Linked DNA regions of Homo sapiens: region 2 is linked to region 1. The links are contacts of gene promoters, found by promoter capture Hi-C in blood cells and fetal thymus (Javierre and others, 2016). All regions are on one chromosome and are shown on one strand. Each heading gives the region's core, a stretch centred on a gene start or on the middle of the fragment in contact. The rest is flanking DNA. Distances are from core to core; before and after follow the strand shown.

Evidence for each region. The method cuts DNA at HindIII sites, captures the fragments that hold promoters and counts their contacts. A CHiCAGO score of 5 or more calls a contact.
Region 2: a fragment that was not itself captured here is called in contact with the fragment with the promoter of OR2AG2 in region 1 in 1 of 17 cell types (M0 macrophages); the score reaches 5.6 in M0 macrophages.

Annotation. Positions count from the first base shown.
Region 1 is chr11:6,770,558-6,773,841 of GRCh38, forward strand. It overlaps OR2AG2 (olfactory receptor family 2 subfamily AG member 2), which reads right to left and starts at 1,419. Exons shown (of 2, transcript NM_001004490.2): 1 at 1,065-1,419. The HindIII fragment of the contact is 9,473 bases long and covers 1-3,284 here.
Region 2 is chr11:7,692,863-7,695,775 of GRCh38, forward strand. OVCH2 (ovochymase 2) reads right to left here. Exons shown (of 16, transcript NM_198185.7): 11 at 2,708-2,848; 12 at 2,196-2,326. All of the region lies in intron 4 of LOC105376533 (a long non-coding RNA gene), which reads left to right. Among named protein-coding and RNA genes, the nearest start is that of OVCH2, 12 kb to the right of the region's middle. The HindIII fragment of the contact is 2,809 bases long and covers 1-2,656 here.

The DNA.
Region 1 (3,284 bases), core at 169-2,668:
AGAATTTTCTCCTGCCTTACAAAATCAAAACTATAATTTTAACCTAGGAACCACTGACCCACTGACCGGAAAACCTTATTTGTCTGTTGACAACAAAAACACAAGTCCAAAGTCAATTCTAAGCACTATTTCTGCTAAATATTAGATTTGAAATGCCTTCATTTTTCTTGAATAAAAAGATGAATGGACAGGTAAATAAAAGGAGGAACATAATTAGCTGGGCACATTCTTCTAGCTTCCTGCACCAGATGTTTGGACAGGATTTCAAAGAGAAGAAAAATCAGGGCTTGGGTAAGGTGGTGTAACCAGGACTCAGGATCCTACATACCTACCTCCTCCCTCTGATACGGGACTATTGTTTTCCCTTCTTTCCATTTACTGAGTTCTCTCTGGGGTCATCTAAAGGGAAAGGCCAGAGAACACACACTGGGCCTACAGAGGAAGAGCTTCATTCTGGAAAACTGCTGGTGGTTGCGGGTATTTCAAACCAAGAGAAGTCAGCAGAGGCTGATATTAAGAGGCATTGCTATAGTTTATGGAAAATGGTCAGTCAATTAACAAGGTAGAGCTAAATTTTTGGAAGTATATTTTATAAGTTTTTCTTTTTCATCTCTGCTCAGTATATTTATTTTTTGTATTTACTTCATTTGGCTTTTTGTGTGGCACTGGACTTAGCGCCAAGCAGTCCTGCAGGGGAAAGGCACTTCAGCATATTTTAGATAGTCCTCCTTTGAGGTACTATTCATTTGGGGACTCACATCAAACTACTGGAGGCCAGGAAAATCTAGATGTAACAAAGGTAAGTACTGAGACTTTTACCAGGAGGCCATCATCAGGAATTCTAGGAACTCACGGCTGGCCAATGGCATAGAATTATTTTGGTTGTTCCTACATGTGCAAGATGGGTACATGTACAAGGTTGATAAGATATAGATGGGAGTGAGTGAATCATAAAGCCTGAGGAACTAGAGAATCTGAGAAGGAGAGCAGTGTAAGGTCTTGACCCTGTTTCTCAGGACTTCCAGACTTCCCATATTGCCTTGAAACGGAGACAGAGCCCTTACCTCATATGGGAAGGGGCATAGCTTCCAGGTAAAGAGGTTCAAGAAGCCAAAGAAAGAAAAGTTGCTTCTTCTGGCCAGGATGAATGTAGGTGTGTGTATGGCTGTCTCTAGGATCAGAGATCAAAGGCTCCTCCAGTCACTGGCACTGCAAGTCCTCTCTGGAAGTAGAGATAGATGCAGACAGGCAGCTGAGAACCTAGGGCAGGATCCTGCAGAAGTGAGGAGCTGAATCTCTTCCAAAGTTCTCTCATTCACTGTCCTTGCGAGAAAGTCCTTACTGCTTTGGAATGGTTCTAGCTGAGTTCTTAAGTCCAGGTCCTCAGATTTCATATATTCCCCTCATGCTGTGTTTCATGATAAAAGAGGAGCACAGCAGGAATGTGAGAAAAGAGGTATAAGAAGAGCTGCTTAAAAGAGACCCACCAATGCCCAGCCTTACTGTCTCTGCGCCAACAGTGAGGCCTGTCCTGGGGGAGGGTTCATAGTCTCACCCTCTCAGCTGACATGACCTCCCCTGAAAATATTGCTCCAGGAAATGGGATTTTAATAAATCCCCTTGGGCATGTCTCCTGGCCTGCCATTTCTTCAAACTTTACCACCAAATGAGCTCTGAACCTTGAGGCCTTGTTCTGCCCGCCATGGGCTTGCTGTGTCTCACCACTCATTGGAGTCTAAGATCTTTCTCCTGCCTTACAAAACCAAAACTATAATTTTAACCTAGAAATCACTGACCGGAAAACCAGACAGAGGCTGTTTCTGACAAAATAGATAGTGTCAGTAACCAATCTGAAAAGCAACACCTCCCTGTCCAGCCCTCTGTCCAAAATATAAAGTCTGTCTCATGGGTTCTATAGATGCTGCCACTCACATATCCCTCTTTGTGCCACTAGCCTGGGCTATTACCAACTAGAGGGAGTTAACTATGCTTCTGTTAATATCAGGTCTTCCTTCACTGAGCTTTAATGAGGATCCAGCACTAATTTATTTTTCAGTTCTTTGTTTCTCCTTTCTACTCCCTCTTGTGTGTGTTCATTTGTTCATGGGCCTACATATTCTGTGATCAGTCAGCTGAGCTGCTCAGAGCTTTGGGATGATGACACAGCACCTGCTTGCACTCACTTCTGCTTTTAGTTCAGGCTTTCCCATCTCTCACCCAATTCTGTGCTTAATCTTCCTCATTCTTTAGTATCTCTTTAATCAGCCATTTCACCAGGAAATGCTGAAAATTTCTTCCGGAGTTATCATATCTTTTCTCTTTGAACTTAAAAAAAATAAAAATAAGTTTCCACTTTCTGTTTATATAAAATATATACTCAAAATTATTTCAGAAGTGCAACAGAAGAACTAATATAAAAATCTTTTTATTTTTTAATTATAAAAGGAATGTACTGAAAAGACGGTTTTAAACATGTAAATTATAAGAGCAGCATTATTCACAGTACAATAAAAATTAGAAACGACCTTTATGCCCATCAACAGTGGAATAGATAGATATGCACCAAAGGGTTACTATGTAGGAATCTAAACAAAGGAACCAGAGCATACAACAAAAAAAGCAACTTAGGAAACTAATATTAAGGGAAGCAAGAGACACCTTAGGATTATATATCGTGGTACTTCTTTTGCAGTGTTAAGAACTTAAGTGAAAATAAACTTCCTATAAATATGTGTACATTCAATAAAACTACATATAAATGAAGAAAGAAAATGATGGACATGAAATTTGCGTTAATAGTTATAGTGAAAGGAGGCAGAGAGCTGGACTGCTAAATGTGGTCGAGTCCAAATCTTCTACTACTTGCCACACGACAGCCAATAAGTGGAGAGAAAAGGTGTTGGGGCAAGGAAGACAACTTTATTTCAGAAAGCCAGCAAACTGAGAAGATGGTGGACTAACATCCTAAAGAACTATCTAAAGTTGATTAATTTTTAGGCTCCTTTTATGTTAGAGGGAGGGGGAAAAGGGATGGGGCTAAGACCAGGAGGTGACTGGTGAACACAGATGTCTGGGCATCAGCAAAGGTCTGAGGAGGTGGCAAAACTTCTTTGTTCATGGTCAACTACTTGTCAAGTCCACCTTGTTTCTATAAATCTTTAATCATTGTTACTTGTATGCATACTTCCTTACCTCCTTGGGGGTCTGTTTCAAAAGTGAGAGAGTCATTAGTTCTAAAGTTAAAGTATAATCTAAATTCTTTTTGTGATTGGCTTGGTCCACAG
Region 2 (2,913 bases), core at 2-2,501, 920 kb after region 1:
GCTTATTGGCAGCATAATATTTCATTTATCTCTATCCTTGAGACCTGTATTTTTTGCTATCTTAAAAACTTGGCAGTGAATATCTTTAGGCATTTACTTTTTTTCTTCTCTTGTATCATTCCCTGCATGGGGCACTTGTTTTGTTTCAGGAAAAGGGAGGGGAACTATCTAGATAGAAGGAACAGTGTGAAGGAGAAACAAAGAAACAATAAAGAGTGATCTTGGAGCAGTTTGGTGAGCACTAGCCAATTGAATTTGAAGTGAAGAGTGGTGGGAGAGAGGGCTGATGAAATAGGAACTCTAATTTTAACACACAGTTGATGGGGATTCAATGGGACCCAGACTCTGAGCAAGAAACAGAAAGGATTGTGTGGATAAAACAAAACTGGAGGCAAATAATTACTAATGGTAAAGGTAGGCGTGGGGAGGGGGACCTGTATCAGAAATAGGATTCATTCAAACATTTATTAAACCCTTACTGGGATACTTTCTGGGAAGGGGCCCTTTTCTCTCCAAGTCAAATGGTGAGCATATTCCTATGACTTTTAACACCAGTTTCCAAATTACTATCTTACACGAGTTCTGCAAAATGATGCTGTCACTGGCAGAGTATGAGAGCATCGCTTCACTGATGCACGACACTCAAACTTTACTTATTGAAGAGATATTTTTCAATCACTTCTGGCTCTGGCATTTTCAGATTTTCAACTAAATTTCCTCTTCTTCCTCCACCTGGAAACATGCTCACAACCTAAATTTTATCCTCCACCACTAACAAATTTTCCTTAATTCTGCTGAAATTTTTGCCCCAAATCTGTTTAGGTTTGATGAACTTTTAGAAAGAAATCTATACCAACTGCCTCTGTATCATCTTTTCCCACTCATTCATAAAACCTGTGTGATCTTGTTTCTGCCATTAACATCTGACTTCACGTGATATTTCAGATACCACCAATCCCAACTCCTCTCAATTGTTCAATTTCCCATCTAATTATTCTCCCTTTTTTATGGAGGTGTGGGGTGGGGACTGGACACCTCAGTTCTCATCTCTTTAAGTTCTAACTTAGTGTGGTATCCAAATGATTGGTCACATCTTTTTCTTTGGTTTTGTTTGTGTTTTAAGTTAAAGGCTGCATTCTCCAGGCTGTCATAAAAACACACCAATTTGGTTCTCCTCCCACATCTCAGAGTTCTTTCCATCTCTTAAGTGAGAACGCTGGTGTCTCATCATCCCTCACTCCTCTCCCCTTTATTTTCTGCTCTCTTTTCTCTCCATCGTACACTGTCTTGTTTTCAATTATTATTTTAAAAGAAAGATCTATGAGAAAATGCCTCATTCCAATCTCACCCTGACTGCAGTCCTACTTCTACCTCCCTGATGATATCTCTCTGCAGATGGTCCATTAGTGTTTAATGAACAAACAACTAACCACACACTGCTAATCAAATGTGGAATAAACTCCATTTCCAGGCGTTCAAAGGCCTCCATACAGTGACTTCCACCTTGCCTTCCACTGTCCACTCCAGGACACCTTAAGACCCTCTTAAACCAGCGATTCCCTGAGCCTGTTCTGCGCTGGTTCCTCTAGGCTTGCTCTGTCCTCTCTGCTTGAAAGGCTTGATGATTTTGGCCTGATTGACCTTGATTTTGTTATCTATAACTTACAATGTGTTTTGTGAGCAGTTTAATAAATAAGGAAGACATGCTTGTTTCTGGAATGGACTAAAAGTCACCAACACAAAGTTTTTGTTTTGTTTTGTTTTGTTTTGTGTTTTGAGAGTTTCGCTCTTGTAGCCCAGGCTGGAGTGCAGTGGCGCGATCTCGGCTCATTGCAACCTCCATCTCCCGGGTTCAAGCAATTCTCCAGCCTCCCGAGTAGCTGGGATTACAGGCGCCCGCCACCGCGCCCGGCTAATTCAATACAAAGATTAAAGCGGCACTTTTTTTTTTTTTTTTTTTTTTTAAAGTAAGGAGCACAGTGCCATCTAGTGGAAAAAATGTGTAGTTGCAGGGGAAACTGGGCGGATCCATTATTCAGCAAGTATTTATTGACAGCTTTGTGTGTCAGGTGCTGGGTTCTAGGTACTGAAAACACAGCAGTGAATAAATCAGATAAAACCTCTGACCTCATGGTGCTTATGTTAGCTATTCTGTGAATTTACCATAGCTACGTAAGGACAGCCAAAGTCAATACCTTAATTAGGTGATGTTTGGAGGCTTGAAAAATCCAGTCACAGTTAGCCTTGTCACTGTAGTTTTCAGGATAGTTTAGACTCTGTATGAGACCTTCTTCAAAAAGGACAGTTAAGTAACTGCAACCTGAATCTGAAACGTAAGAAAAAGTCCAAACAGATGGCACCATTCAAATAAAGAAGAATTCTCACTGCTCTCCCTCCTGTCTCCTGAAAATGATGCATATCAATTGCATTTTCAGACACTGCGAACAAGAAAAGACGTAGTGCATGATTCTCCAGAACTCATCAGGCCCTCTCGACTCACTTGGAGGGGCAATCACTACGAGCTAGCAGGGTGAACTCAGGGTTGAGGGGGAGACTGCCCCCTGTTCTCTAGTTGGCCTGTGCCCCTCTCCCATGTGGAGTCAGTTGGGCCTTGGGAGAGGGATCCCTGCCACTCACCTAATTCCTATGGGGCCTAAGCTTCTACAGAAGGTGGAGATAGTATGTGATTAAAAGTAAATGGTTTTACCAGGAATGTAGTTTGGTTTAAGAGCTTTATAGGTAAGATTAAACCCAGCTGCATTATCTGTGGCATCAGAGACGAATTTCAGCCTTAGAGAATTAGAGCCAATAAGAATGGATGAAGGGAGGCTTTCTCCACAAAATTTTCCTGCAGGATGAGAAAAAAGGATTCTTTGTTCAGAATCTAGAAAATAGTTCCCATTCAATGATTTA